Linked DNA regions of Homo sapiens: regions 2, 3 and 4 are each linked to region 1. Evidence: promoter capture Hi-C in 16 types of primary human blood cells and fetal thymus (Javierre and others, 2016). All regions are on one chromosome and are shown on one strand. The core of a region is centred on a gene start or on the middle of the fragment in contact, and the rest is flanking DNA. Distances in the headings are between cores, read along the strand shown.

The links. Contacts are between HindIII fragments. The CHiCAGO score rates a contact against its expected background, and 5 or more counts as called.
Region 2: a contact is called between a fragment that was not itself captured here and the fragment with the promoter of DHRS1 in region 1, in 2 of 17 cell types (activated CD4 T cells and naive B cells). The highest score is 6.8, in activated CD4 T cells.
Region 3: a fragment that was not itself captured here is called in contact with the fragment with the promoter of DHRS1 in region 1 in 9 of 17 cell types (naive B cells, naive CD8 T cells, activated CD4 T cells and 6 more); the score reaches 9.3 in naive B cells.
Region 4: a fragment that was not itself captured here is called in contact with the fragment with the promoter of DHRS1 in region 1 in 8 of 17 cell types (naive CD8 T cells, activated CD4 T cells, naive B cells and 5 more); the score reaches 8.1 in naive CD8 T cells.

Annotation. Positions count from the first base shown.
Region 1 is chr14:24,297,369-24,301,029 of GRCh38, reverse strand. DHRS1 (dehydrogenase/reductase 1) reads left to right here and starts at 1,250. Exons shown (of 9, transcript NM_001136050.3): 1 at 1,250-1,449; 2 at 1,900-2,073. The coding sequence starts at 1,924. It overlaps NOP9 (NOP9 nucleolar protein), which reads right to left and starts at 1,180. Exons shown (of 10, transcript NM_174913.3): 1 at 829-1,180; 2 at 173-622. The coding sequence starts at 1,075. RefSeq lists an enhancer at 1,906-2,696. The HindIII fragment of the contact is 3,784 bases long and covers 1,109-3,661 here.
Region 2 is chr14:24,059,971-24,063,631 of GRCh38, reverse strand. CARMIL3 (capping protein regulator and myosin 1 linker 3) reads right to left here. Exons shown (of 40, transcript NM_138360.4): 23 at 3,569-3,661; 24 at 3,377-3,475; 25 at 2,876-3,004; 26 at 2,592-2,705; 27 at 1,960-2,135; 28 at 1,065-1,152; 29 at 786-923; 30 at 449-512; 31 at 99-307. Among named protein-coding and RNA genes, the nearest start is that of CPNE6, 9.8 kb to the left of the region's middle. The HindIII fragment of the contact is 4,487 bases long and covers 1-3,661 here.
Region 3 is chr14:24,108,964-24,112,624 of GRCh38, reverse strand. The region is part of intron 1 of NRL (neural retina leucine zipper); the gene reads left to right. Among named protein-coding and RNA genes, the nearest start is that of DCAF11, 4.0 kb to the left of the region's middle. RefSeq lists an enhancer at 3,551-3,661. The HindIII fragment of the contact is 2,327 bases long and covers 419-2,745 here.
Region 4 is chr14:24,153,686-24,157,346 of GRCh38, reverse strand. RNF31 (ring finger protein 31) reads right to left here. Exons shown (of 21, transcript NM_017999.5): 12 at 2,017-2,190; 13 at 1,835-1,933; 14 at 1,655-1,744; 15 at 1-57. Among named protein-coding and RNA genes, the nearest start is that of IRF9, 5.7 kb to the left of the region's middle. The HindIII fragment of the contact is 7,637 bases long and covers 1-3,661 here.

The sequences.
Region 1 (3,661 bases), core at 1-2,500:
CTCCGCACACACTAATCTTTGGCTTGCTAAGCCCTGTTCAGATTAGGACAGGTCAAGCTAATTCTTCCCGGTCAAGCTCCCCCATGAAGACTTACTCTTCTGTTTACTGTCTCATTCTGAACTTTCTAAATTCTTCTTCCCCCTAGGTCCACTTTCCTCTTGTAATACTTACCAGATGATTGGGAACCACGGGGCCTGGCTCTCTCAGACTCCAGAATAGTCCCTCCTAACACCTGAAGCAGAGTTCTGACCACGAAGCTGCCATGTGTGTCTCCACAGTAGACAAGAAAATCATCACACACCTCAGCGGCTAGTCCCAGGACCAGCTCCTCCAGGGTCTCCGTGGGACCATCCTTTCCATCCTCCTCCTCCTCCTCCTCCTCCTCTGCAGCACTCCCCAGCAATCGAGGGAGCTGTAGCAAAGCACTTTGTAATACATGGACCCCGCATCGGTGACAGGCCACAGTGCGCAAGTTAGAGCGCAGAGCAGCCCACACGCGACAAAGCGGTTTCAAGGGACTGAATCCCAACAGTTCCTGCAGCATCTCACTGCCAGTCCTGTTCGTGGACAAAGCTAGGGCCTGAGTCTCTACTTCCTTCATTATATTGTGCACCATCAGATCTGAAAAGGGAAGAAAGACACACTTTGAAGAGACTTAGTAGAGAATACAGTTATGTACCCTCGCTTAACCAAGGGTCGTGGGTCGGAGGCCGAGGAAGAGGACATGGGAAATGAAACTAAGTCCCCACGCCCTGCCGACCCTAGAAAGTTTCCTTGCCTGCCCTGGATTTGATGCTCTTGGTCTAAACCCCGAAGTTGCTGCCTACCTCGTTCTTCCCCAGTCTCGGGAGCCTCTTTCAATGCTGACAGCGCCCGGCGGAAATATCCCAGAGCTTCCGGGCTCAGGTGCGGGTGCGAATCTGGAGCCGGCTCCGAGCGCCCATCCGGAGGCGGCCAGGGTTGCCGCTTACGGCCTGGTAAGGGGCGCCCCGACCCCTTGGCCCCGCGCCCCCGTTTGCCACCAGCTGGGAACCGGCGCCCCACCTTGTGTGGAGAGCGCGGACCCTGCCCCATGTGTGCTTCGCGACCTGTCCGGCTGCAAAAGCTTCCTTAACTGCGGACGGACCTTCGACGTCGCCAAGCGTGCGCCTTATCCAGACAAAGTTTAGAAACGCGGGCGCGCTCCTGACGCAGCTACTACGTCATAGTTCCGCGCCGCCCCAGCCGGGCGGGGTGGGTGTGTCACCCAGATCGCTCCGCCCCCATCCGCAGGTTCTAACTTTGGCCTGGGACTCTGCCCCTCTACCTCAGCACAGAATCGCCCCGGGTCCTACTACAGAATCAATCCTTGAACACTGCCTCCACGTCGCCGGCTCAATCTGGGCGAGAACCCAGACTTCCACCGCAGCCCCGCAATCTGCAGACCTCAGCGGCAGCGCAGGTGGCAGGTAAGCGGCGCACGCTCGTCCCACTTAGGGCTTAGGATCTCCAGGCTTCGCGCTCATCCCCGGCCCGGAAGCTGCGCCTCTGGCTCAGCCGGACTGGGTCAGGCCAGGGACCGGAGCTTCAGATAGCCCAGGACTCTGCGTGGACGCGCCCCGAGGGGCTGCCGCGCCAGATTCCCATATCCAGGCAGCCACACTCAGAGGGTTGTAGTAGTTGTCCACCTCTGGACAGTCCCACTCAGCCCCTTCTTCACTCTCTGGGCCTCCCAAAAGACAGTCAGCCTTGTCCTCAGGCCCGCACCCAGTTGTCAGCCTCTGACTCCTCTCCCCTCAAAGGATTCTTACCTTGGCTCCTCCTCTTAGCCCTAGTGAGGTTCTCCCCTACCCCCCAACCTCGCCCCAACACACACACAGTCTCCAGGCTTCCCTCAGAGTAAGTCTTTGCTTCCACAGACCTGCCTCCTTTGCCTGTGAGTCATGGCAGCTCCCATGAATGGCCAAGTGTGTGTGGTGACTGGTGCCTCCAGGGGTATTGGCCGTGGCATTGCCTTGCAGCTCTGCAAAGCAGGCGCCACAGTTTACATCACTGGCCGCCATCTGGACACCCTTCGCGTTGTTGCTCAGGAGGTGAGTGCTTCCTCTGGGACCACAGTTGCAGAAACCACCCGAGAGAGCCCTTCCACTTAACAGCTCCTTTCCTAATCCCTTACCTGAAACTATAATACTACTCAACAAGATGTGAATATTTATTCAAAGTGGAAATTAAAAACCCCGTAAATAACTTCAGGTAAGGTAGAATTTTGCCGCCAAGTGAGTTTTATGAAAAAACTTTGTGTTTGAGCCAGGCATGGTGGCACGTTCCTGCAGTCCCAGCAGCTACTCCGGAGGCTGAGGCAGGAGGATCGCTTGAGCCTAGGAGTTGAGCCATGATCACACCACTGCACTCCAGTCTAGACGACACAGCGAGACACTGTATTAAAAAAAAGAAAAGAAAGAAAAGTAAAAAACTTTTTGTTTGAGAGCAGAGATTTTGGAATTGCAACTAAAGGGTTGTGGACCTGTGCTTTCCTCTATTTCAGGCAAGACTTTATTGAACTGCACATTTTTTACTTATTTACTAGACTTCAGTTAAATAAATATTTGAGTATCCATGATTTGCTAGGCATTGGTAAACCACTGAAGTTACCAAGACTAATAAAATCTAATTTCTGCTCTTCAAAGATTCAGTCCATGGTGGAGTACAGTGGCTCATGCCTGTAGTCCCAGCACTTTGGGTGGCCAAGGCAGCAAGATCACTTGAGGCCAGCAGTTGGAGACCAGTCTGGGCAACATAGCTAGACCCAGTCTCTACAAAAAATATTTTTTAAATAATTAGCTAGGCACAGTGGCCTGCACCTGTAGTACCATCTACTTGGGAGGCTGAGGCAGGAGGATCGTTTGAGCCCAGGAGTTCGAGGTTGCAGTGAGCTATGATTGCACCACTGCACTCCAGCCTGGTGACAGTGAGACCCTGTCTCTAAAAAAAAAAATTTTAATTAAAAATGAAGATAGATTCCAACAGGAAGTCAGGTACAGAAAGCAGTCACTTCAATGTAATGTGAATATGGTAAATTATAAGAGGGAGATATGCACAGAATACTCTAGGGGTGTTGGGGAGCATCCAGATGACATAGGAGAGTGGCTAGGGAAAGTGGTTTGGGAAAGCGTCCTGGAGGAGGTAGGTGGTTCTTGAACTGAGTTTTGAAAGGTAAGAATTAGGTAAAGGAAGTTAGGAAAAGCATTCCAGCAGAGGGAGCTCCATAAGCATAGGGACGCTGTGTGAAAGAGTAGATGTGTGAGATAATGCAAGGGAAGAGTAGTGAGTGAGAGGCTGGAGAGGAAAGAGTGGGTCTTGGAAGACCCTAATAGAGAACTCAGGCTTCATCCTCTAAGAGATGGAGATCCAGTTAGGAGATTTTGAACAGGGTTTGTGTTTTAGATAGGTCGTACTGGCTGGATTATGAAGAATTAATTTAAGGCAGACAGACTGGAGGTCAGGTGAGTCGTTGGGAGGCATTGCAGTAGTTCAGGCAAGGAGGGTAATAGGCGGGGACCCAGAGCATAAATTTGGAGAATAGGAGGATTGTTCTTAGATAAAGGACTCTTCTTCCTCTGAAGTTGGAGGTTTGTGGGCATTTGTAGAGAGTGAGACAGAACAGGAAGTAGAAATCATTCA
Region 2 (3,661 bases), core at 833-3,332, 240 kb after region 1:
AAGGCTACTGTCTCTGGCATTTGGGTCCTAAAGGTAAAACTCCTGGCTCTGGTGTCACTGAGTGAAGGGGATCCTCTTGTGAAGCCTTAGGGACTCACACTGGGTCGACCAGGTCCTGGAGGTGTGGTCCTGGGGGGGCGGGGCCTCCCTTGTGTTTGATGCCTTAGTTTGTAACCATGAGTGGGCAGCTCAGATAGACCTTCCCAGGAGCCACTAGCTGTGGGCTGGCTGCCCCCAAGTCCTGAGAACCAGCCAGGGGGGATCCCCAGATTCCCCAGTTGGCTTTCCATGTCCTGAGGGCTCCCGCCTGCAAAGACAGCAGCATTAGAGGGACTAGCAGAGGAATGGGGAGAAAGCAGGATGGGGAGACAGAGAAAAAATCAAGGGAAAGAGGGGCTACAGAGGGCGGGAGTCTGGAGTCCATGAGAACGGAGGCTGGGAGACTCACTGATGAAGGCAGACACCGGCCGAATCTTGCGGCAGCGTTTCTGCTTTTTGATGGCCATGGTGTCCTGCAGAAATGAAGACGAGTGGCAGGGCCAGGCACCTCACCCAGAGCCATCCATTCCTCATGAAACCTTATTTGAGCCCATCCTGCCCCTCGCTCCTCAGGGGGCTGAGGCACTGGGATGAGGGAAGAGGTTGGGCTGGATTGAGATTGGAGGCAGAAGGCCAGGCACAGTGAGGTGGCCAGGGGAGTACAGATCAGTGGAAGGGGACAGTGTTGTGCAGGTTTAAGGGCAGGGCCCAGGTTATTAAGGAGGAGCAGGGAGCGGGGGGCTCACAATGTTGGTCCCAAGTTCATCATCTGTGGTCTCCTCATGGTCATGGTTCCGGCCTCGGCCCCGGGAGGACAGATCCTGCCCTTGGCCTGGGCACCCTGGTGGATCTGACAGCGTCCTTAGCTGGGTCAGGTGCCGGGCCTGGGGAAGGGCAGGTGTGAACAGAATTCCATGGAAGCTGCCCACCTCCCAGGGCCTTGAAGGGGAGGGTGATTAGGGAGACAGGATAATGTGGGGTGGAGGGCGTGCCCGAGCCAGGCCAGGCTGCAGAAGAAGCCTTACCAGGCTCTTGTGGGAATGGTAGAGCTCTTGCAGGATCTCATCCACTATGGAGCTGGTTAGGTAGGTGACGACTGAGAGCTTCACTTCACTGTGGGCACAGGTGGGGCTACTCAGAACATTAGCACCTCAGTCCCCCGCATGGCCCCTGAGGCACTCCCTCTCCCAGAAGCCTGAGAGAACGGCCAGCTGGCCTGGTCTGTCTGCCCATGGAGCGCATGTGGCTGCTGAAGGAGGCAGCCTAGCCCTTGACACTCATTTCTCCACAAATACACGTCTAGTCCCACCCCAGAGCCCCCAGCCCAACTATGTGTGGGGAAAGAGGAATTCGAGGAGAAGGAGCAAGGGGGCCCTAGGTCAGGCCCCTGGAGCCCCAGTGGAACAGAGCTAGGTAATTGGGGTGCTGAGTAACTAAACCCTGCTAGTTGCTACTGTGAGGGTAGGAAAGACCCTTCCTTGGGCCTAGCTGTTTCATAGGTATGTGTACTAGTTTTCCTTTGGTTTGGTGAGTGGTGGCACCCAGACCCAGAATGAAAGAACTCTAGGGGCAATGAAAACTGGGAGGAAGACAGTGCTTCCATGCACCCAACTCAGGTACTTTTCTTTGTCCATGCCTCCGAGGAGGCCCTGCTATCCCATTCCTGGTGTATTTGTGTGGGTATGTGTGTGTACACCTGTGTGGGCACAAACTTGGCTCCTAAACCCCAGCTCAGCACTTAGATTTCTAGGGCAAAGACCAGCCAGACCCTAAATAGCAAGGTTGCACTTGGTTAAAGATTGATCCTTGTAATGGAGATTGTGCCATTCATTATTCATTGCTGATAGCTCTCCAGTCCTAAGTCCCTAAGTGATCTGGGCCAAATCCAGCTCAGCCCCAGCCCTGCCCTTTGCCTCTCACTCCAGCTTGTTCTGAATGTCCTGTCCTGCTTGCTCCAGCAGTGCCCCTCGGATGAAGTTCCGGGGCACAGTGACACGCTCCGCCACATTGCTCAGCATCTTGTTGTGTCCCTCGGCCACCCGCATGGCCACAGGGCATAACTCCTGTGTCAGGCTGACCATGGACTCCAGGATCACCTAGTATGGGGGAAAGGGAGGCCAGAGGCCCAAGGGGGACAGGATCAGGGCTGGCACCACAGCAGAAGAGACTTTATCTATTCCAGCCCCTCCTGCTGAGACTGAGGGACCTGCCTAAGTCACAAAACTGTTAGTGGCAGAGCCTTGGACACTAAGGCTTCCCCACTTTCTGGTCAGTGCTCCTTCCACCCTACCATACAGACAGGGGCAGTCAGTCCAAGGATCCAAATCCAGAGCAGGGAGGTCAGAGTTCAGGGACCAACATCAAAGCTAGCAGAAAAAAATCCAAGCCTGATATTGCAGCAATGCCTTGGTACAGTGGGAGCGTGGGTGGTCTCAACTCTGCATGTCCTCCTGGCCCTCCAGAAGTCTCCCAGCTCTGACTTTAGCTCTGGGCTTAGGGCCTCAGTCAACACTAGGTTCCCACCATGGATTCCTCCCTCCTCCAGGACTTGCCTGCAGCTCCTTGTCCACAGCTTTGGACACCTCACTTGCTACTGATTCCAGCCTCTGCCGCACAGGCCCATCATTGGCCAGCACGTGGCCCAGCTCATAGAGGCTGGGAAACAGCTGGAGAAGGAAGGGGTTATGATTAGCAGGCCAGAACCAGGACTTGCTAGGTCTCTGGGGTCCCTGGGCTAGGAAGGCAGATGCACAGGGCAGGGCTGTCATGGCTTAGCATGGTCGGCCTTCTTGGGTTCTCCAGACTTCAGGGGAAGGGTAGCCTGTGGAGGGCTCACCGCCCGGGAGTTCTTGGCATCTTTGATGAGGTCCCGAGCGTAGAGTAGCTCATCCTGCACAGGCTCCAGGGGGCATAGTCTCAGGGCCCGCACCTCCTCCTGCACTCGTCCACACAGCCGCTGCAGCATCTGGAGCACAGTGGCAGGGGTGTCAAGGGGACCCCTGCTTCCACATCTTCGCAGGTAGGACCCCTTAGACAGTGCTACTGGTGCTGGCACCGACAGTGGTGGAGGTGATGTCTCTGGCTGGCCTGGTCCCCATTGCTACAGCCTTCTTGAATGCCCAGCTGAGCTCCCAGAGTCCTGTGCACTCCTGCTGTTCGCCCACATATGTTTGAAGCCCATATCCTGCATGTCCTCTCTTTTTGCTTCCCCACATGCTCAGTCCAGTGATAGGCACCATGCAGTGCCTCTTCATGCTCCCCCACTCAATTTTCCATCACATCACACTGTGCCCTGCATGCCCCGGGTATGCCCCGTGTCCCAGAGGGAAACGTTTACTTGCTCGGCGCTGCTGGTCACCAGGCCCTGCTGCAACCTGAAGGCCTGCTCCTGGGGGCACGTCTGGGAGTGGTTGTTCCTCACTAAGCACCATTGGATCTGGAGATGATGGGGTTGGTGGGTCAGGGCCTGGGGATGGGGGCTGCCCCCTGCCCCTTGCTGTGCCACCCTGCTTAGGACAGCACCCTGCACCTTCTGCCAGACGTCCTCGGTGCGCTCAGGCGCGCTGCGATAGGCTTGGGAGATGTCGCTCACGGGGAAGGACATGAAGCGCAGCGTGTGGTT
Region 3 (3,661 bases), core at 333-2,832, 190 kb after region 1:
TTCATGTGTTTTTTGGCTGCATAAATGTCTGCTTTTGAGAAGTGTCTGTTCATGTCCTTCGCCCACTTTTTGATGGGGTTGTTTGTTTTTTTCTTGTAAATTTGTTTGAGTTCATTGTAGATTCTGGATATTAGCCCTTTGTCAGATGAGTAGGTTGCGAAAATTTTCTCCCATGTTGTAGGTTGCCTGTTCACTCTGATGGTAGTTTCTTTTGCTGTGCAGAAGCTCTTTAGTTTAATTAGATCCCATTTGTCATCCTCCCTAACTCATTTTATGAGGCCAGCATCATTCTGATACCAAAGCCGGGCAGAGACACAACCAAAAAAGAGAATTTTAGACCAATATCCTTGATGAACATTGATGCAAAAATCCTCAATAAAATACTGGCAAACCGAATCCAGCAGCACATCAAAAAGCTTATCGACCATGATCAAGTGGGCTTCATCCCTGGGATGCAAGGCTGGTTCAATATACGCAAATCAATAAATGTAATCCAGCATATAAACAGAGCCAAAGACAAAAACCACATGATTATCTCAATAGATGCAGAAAAAGCCTTTGACAAAATTCAACAACCCTTCATGCTAAAAACTCTCAATAAATTAGGTATTGATGGGACGTATTTCAAAATAATAAGAGCTATCTATGACAAACCCACAGCCAATATCATACTGAATGGGCAAAAACTGGAAGCATTCCCTTTGAAAACTGGCACAAGACAGGGATGCCCTCTCTCACCGCTCCTATTCAACATAGTGTTGGAAGTTCTGGCCAGGGCAATCAGGCAGGAGAAGGAAATAAAGGGTATTCAATTAGGAAAAGAGGAAGTCAAATTGTCCCTGTTTGCAGACGACATGATTGTTTATCTAGAAAACCCCATCGTCTCAGCCCAAAATCTCCTTAAGCTGATAAGCAACTTCAGCAAAGTCTCAGGACGGAATCATTTTTTAAAAAAATTGGCCGGGCGCGGTGGCTCACGCCTGTAATCCCAGCACTTTGGGAGGCCAAGGCGGGTGGATCACCTGAGGTCAGGAGTTCGAGACCAGCCTGGCCAACATGGTGAAACCCCGTCACTAAAAAAAAAAAAGCCGAGTGTGGTGGCATGCGCTTGTAATCCCAGCCACTCGAGAGGCTGAGGCAAGAGAATCGCTTGAACCCGGGAGGTGGAGGTTGCATTGAGCCGAGATCACGCCACTGCACTCCAGCCTGGGCTACAAAAGCGAAACTCCGTCACACACACACAAAAAACAATCAACCAACCAAACAAAAAACACCTATGCCTCTTCCGGTAGTTGATCTGCTGAAGAATCCTCCTCTAACAGCATTTAGTGCTTAACGCACAAGTGAGCTGGGCACGGTGGCTTACGACTGTAATTCCAGCACTGTGGGAGGCCGAGGAGGAGGATCATTTGTGGCCAGGAGTTCAAGGCCAGCCTGGGCAACATAGTGAGACCCAGTCTACAAAAAGAAAAAAAAAATAGCCGGCCATCGTGGCGCGTGCCTATGGTCCCAACTTACTTGGGAAGGATGAAGGAGGGAATCTTGAGCCTATGAGGTGGAGGCTGCAGTGAGCCATGATTGCTCCACTGTACTCCAGCCTGGGGATAGAGCTAAAGACTGTCTCTAAAAGAAAATCAACAAATGGCTCACTATTGTTCATTGTTTCAAATACAAACTTCCAAACCTGGATGTCTATTTTTAGTAACCTCATTTTTTGATATTTCTGCTAAGCAAATATGCCAATAAATAGCTTGTTTATTTTTACCTCTGCACCTTCCCAGGAGAATTTCTTATTAGAGGGAAGCTGTCTACAAAACTCCCTTCCTCACAGCCTTGCACTTTGACCCAGTAATACTGCTTCCAGAAATCTAGGCCGGACATGCATAAAAATTTATGTTCTACATAGCAATTATTGATAAAAGTGGAACACTGGAAACAAAGATCTAAATATCTTGCAATATGGGATTGTTAAATAAATTATGGTCCATGTAGTATAGACACAGAAATACCAGGTAGCTATTAAAATGGTGTTGTAGTCTTCAATTTTTTTTTAAGGTACCTATTCCTGGTATAGGTTTGTTGTAGCCTTCTATTTTTATACCATAGGAAATTGTGCAAACTACATTGTCAAGTTAAAAAAATAAAGATAATCATTTCTTCTGGTGACATGTAATAGATGCAAAAACGATGTGGTTTCATTTTTTCATTAGAAAGTATAATAGGCGTGGTAGCTCACACCTGTAATCCCAGTACTTTGAGAGGCTGAGGCGGGCAGCTCGCTTGACCACAGGAATTTGAGATCAGCCTGGGCAATGTGACGAAACCCCATCTCTACGAAAAATACAAAAACAAAATTGAGCTGGGCCTGTAGTCTTGGCTACCCAGGATGCTGAGGTGGAAGGATCACCTGAGTCTGGTCAAGGCTGCAGTGAGCCATGATTGCGCCACTGCACTTCATCCAGCCTGGGCGAGAATGAGACCCCGTCTCAAAGAAAAAAAAAAAAAGTATAATAATACCCAGCTCATTACATCATTAAACAAAGTGGGGAGGGCTTGCATGAACTGGTGACAAAGGTGTAGCTTCTACAAAGGATTATGATGAATACAGCTATAGCACCTGAGGTCCAGAAAAACGAACAAAAAACTTCTGTTAAACTTATCTCCTTAACAATTCATTTTTTGATTCTCTTTTCTCTTCTTCTTACAAATTAGTTTAAACCTGAATAAAATCTTTTAATTCAAGCTTTTGTAATATGGAACTTGTACATTATTGAGTAAAACATTTAAAAGTCATGGTAAATGTTAAAATAACTGAGGTTTTATGACAAAATTGAGTCCTTCACATCACATGGGAAAGAATATAAGATTAATCACTGGATTCATTGATTAATTTTTTTGCGTATAAAAGATTTTTTTTTTTTTTTTTTGAGATGGAGTCTTGCTCTGTCACCCAGGCTGGAGTGCAGTGGACCGATCTCGGCTCACTGCAAGCTCCGCCTCCCGGGTTCATGCTATTCTCCTGCCTCAGCCTCCCGAGTACCTGGGACTACAGGCGCCCGCCACCATGCCCGGCTAATTTTTTGTATTTTTCTTAGTAGAGACGGGGTTTCACCATGTTAGCCAGGATGGTCTCGATCTCCTGACCTCATGATCTGACCACCTAGGCCTCCCAAAGTGCTGGGATTACAGGTGTGAGCCACCACGCCTGGCAGCATATAAAAGATTTTTAAGCCTATGAACTTGATTATCTCACTATGACCTGTAATGTTTTTCAAAATGTGTAAGAGCATTTATATCTTAGGGTATACAGTGTGTCTATTGAAATAAATAAAATGGCATATCTTTAAAAATAATTATGGTGAAGTCATTTTGATAGACTAAATTTTGCCTATGCTGTCTTGATTTTGAAATTTGGTACGTTGCGTGGTTACAGTTTGTGAAGCACTTTTCATTTGGGTAACCTCTACTCTCTCCAGTTGCACTTAAAGTCACTTAAAGCCACAGAGAGGTTTTTCTACCTTCAGCACCCATTTTAGGACAATTTCTGGTAATTGCTAAGTAAATGTCAGCTAGTTGACTTCCTGCCTGACCTGTCTTGGCCTGTTTCCTGCTCATTAGCATCTCCACTAGAGGGCAGGCTGGGCTGCTGAGGAGAGAAGGA
Region 4 (3,661 bases), core at 1-2,500, 140 kb after region 1:
CATGCGTTTCCAGTTCTGGAAGTCCTCACAGCTCCGACCTCGGTGCTGCTCCTCCCACTGCCAGAGGGAAAGTAGGCTTCACATGGGAGCTCTATCCCATCCCCTGGCCTTTCTTGCTGGCCCCTCCACTCACATCCAGTGGTTCCCCAGCTTGGTTTATGTCACTGCCACCTACCATTTGCTCAGATCTCAAAATGAGAGGCCATCCTTGGTCCTTTCATTTTCTCCTACCACCTCACACTACTTTTGCCTTGTTTCCACCCCACAGACCATCTCAACCATATCCCCTTTTCCTTCATCCCTACTGCTACCACTTTACTCCAGGCCACCATCAGACCTTGCCTCAATTGCTTGCCTCGGTTACTAGTCTCTCTGTTTCCCATTCCTGCTCCCCTAGGGTCAATTCTCCCCATGGCTGTCAAAAGTCCTTCAAAACTGTAAGTCAGGTAGCTTCCACAGGATTGGTGGTGTTTTGGTTCTGTGGTAGTCTCAGGTGTTCACTTTATTTCAGACATGATGCAGATGAAATTTTTTTCGTATCAAATATTACACTTCTTTTTTTTTTTTTGAGATGGAGTCTCGCTCTGTCACCCAGGCTGGAGTGCAATGGCGTGATCTTGGCTCACTGCAGCCTCCACCTCCTGGGTTCAAGCGATTCTCCTGCCTCAGCCTCCAGAGTAGTTGGGATTACAGGCACATGCCACCACACCCGGCTAATTTTTGTATTTTTAGTAGAGACGGGGTTTCACCATATTGGGAGGCTGGTCTTGAACTCCCAACCTCAAGTGATCCACCCACCATGGCCTCCCAAAGTGCTGGGATTACAGGCGGAAGCCACCATGCCTAGCCAAATATTACACTTCTTAAAAGATAAATGTGGCTGGGCATAGTGGCTCATGCCTGTAATCCCAGTACTTTGGAAGGCTGAGGCGAGGGATCACTTGAGACCAGGAGTTGGAGGCTGCAGTGAGCTGTGACTGCACCAGTGGACCCCAGCCTGGGTGACAGTGAGTTGTCTCTAAAAATAAATAAATAAATAAATAAACGAAAGATAAATGAGATAGTATCACCCTTGCTTTATCTCAGAATGAAGGCAGACGGACGCCTGCTTCACGTGGCCTCCAGGGCTCTACAGACCTGGCAGCTGGCTTCTCTCTGACCACCTGCCATTCCCGCCTTGCTTTCCAGGCTCCAGCCATACAACACTTTTTTCTGATTCTGGCCTTTCCATGTGTTGTTCTTTCTCTCCCAAATGCTCTTTGCATGGCTGGCTTCTTTTTAATGTTTAGGCCTGAGCTTAAACCATTTTAGAGAAGACTTGTCTGACCTCTCTACCCTAAGTAGGTCCACTCTGTTACCCTGATCTCAGGTTCCTGTTTGTTTTCTTCATAGAATTTATGCCTATGTATAATTAGTTCCTCTGGCTTACTTTCTTTCCTTCCTTCCTTCCTCCTCCCCTTTCCTTTCCCTCCCGATTTCCTCCCTCCCTCTGCTTCCCTTTCTCCTTGTGCCTAGTCTTTCTGAGTAGTCTGTAAGCTCTTTTGACCTCAGAGCTCATGTCTGTTTTGCTCTCCAGTACACAAACTCCCCTGAGTCTAACACAGTACCTGGCAGTAGCTCAGCAAGTATTTCTGAAAGGATGAATGTGCCTCACCTGGCGCTTGCAGCGCACACAGAAGGTCTGGTGACACTGGGGACAAGTTGCCTCCAGCTGCTCACGCTCATATATGAAGCCAAAGGAGCACTGGAAGTGCAAGAGCATAAAGTTATCAAAGGCCTGACCTGGAACCATCCCCTGCCCCTCCACAGTAGCTGCCCTGGGCAGGCCACTTACCTGGGCACACCACAAGAACTTGGGGTCCCGCATCAGCACACCCTCGGTCAGCTTCTTATGGAACAACGCATAGGCATCTGGCTCTAGGCTCTCGCGAAGCTGGGGACAGGATGCAGAGGTGGTGGGTGGGAGGGTCCCTGTTCAAAGCTCAGGGTACCTGAGTCCTAGAGGGGCTGCAGTACCTGGATGTCAAGGGTAGAGAAGTAGCTGAGCAACTGTGTGTCATCGGTGAGGTCGGGGCGGCCACAGGCAGGGCACACCATGTCTGTGATGTGCTTCTCCTTCAAGGCGATGGTGAAGTGCTGGCGGAAGCAGTCAGGACAGATGGTGCACTCACAGGAAGTCAGGGCCTGCATCTGGAGGGTGAGGGGTTGGAGGGGAGGGGGTCAGAAGCCACAGCTGCCAGGCTAGGGAAGAGGCAGTGGCCAGGTGTCCACTAAGAAATCAGGGTCTAATTAACAACTGGGCAGGGTTAACAACCTCAAGTGCCAGCAGGGGCCAGGCAGGCAACGTAAACATCTGAAGACAGTCGGGTGGAGGAAAATAGACAATGGTGACACCTAAGGTAAAGGCAAAAGTGCCTATAAAAACATTCATATTCCATTAAATATACAAATAACATGCTTGAAATGACAAAACTATAGAGGTGGAGAACAGCTTCATGGTTGCCAGGTGACTAGAAGTGGGGGCAGAAGGGTATAACTAAAGAGGTACATGAGAGAGTTCCTTTGTGGTGATGAAACAATCTGTATCTTGATTATGGTGGTGGTTATATGCATCCATACGTGGGACAGAACTGCATAGAACCACACATACACACAGCGGCATATCCATGAGAAAAATGAACAAGACCTGTAGTATAGCTAACATTGGAGCAATGTCTTATTTCTTGGTCTTGATATTGTACTATAACTATATAAGAAGTCACCACTGGGGGCCGGGCACGCTGGCTCACACCTGTAATCCCAGTACTTTGGGAAGCCAAGGCGGGCGCATCACTTGAGGCTAGGAGTTCGAGACCAGCCTGGCCAACATTGTGAAACCTTGTCTCTACTAAAAATACAAAAATTAGGCCAGGCACCATGGCTTATGCCTGTAATCCCAGCACTTTGGGAGGCTGAGGCAGGCGGATCACCTGAGATCTGGAGTTCCAGACCAGCCTGACCCGTCTCTACTAAAAATACAAAATTAGCCAAGTGTGGTGGCGCATGCCTGTAATCCCAGCTACTCGGGAGGCTGAGGCAGGAGAATCACTTGAACTCGGGAGGCGGAGGCTGCAGTGAGCCGAGATCGCACCATTGCACTCCAGGCTGGGCAACAAGAGCAAAACTCTGTCTCAAAAAAAAAAAAATTAGCCGGGCATGATTGCAGATGCCTGTAATCACAGCTACTTGGGAGGCTGGGACAGGAGAATCGCTTGAACCGGGAGGCAGAGGTTGCAGTGAGCCATGATTGCGCGACTGCGCTCCAGCCAGGGCGACAGAGCGAGACTCCGTCTCAAAAAAATGTCATCGCTGAGTGAAGGTTAGTGAAAAGTACACAGGACTCTATGCACTATTTTTGAAACTTCCTGTAGATTCTACATTTATTTATTTATTTAATTTATTTTGAGACAGAGTCTCACTCTGTCGCTCAGACTGGAGTGCTGTGGCGCAATCCTGGCTCACTGCAACCTCTGTCTCCCAGGTTCAAGAGATTTTCCTGCCTCAGCCTCCCAAGTAGCTGGGATTACAGGCACCCACTACCACACCCGGCTAATTTTTGTATTTTTTGTAGAGACAGGGTTTCACCATGTTGGTCAGGCTGGTCTCGAACTCCTGACCTCAG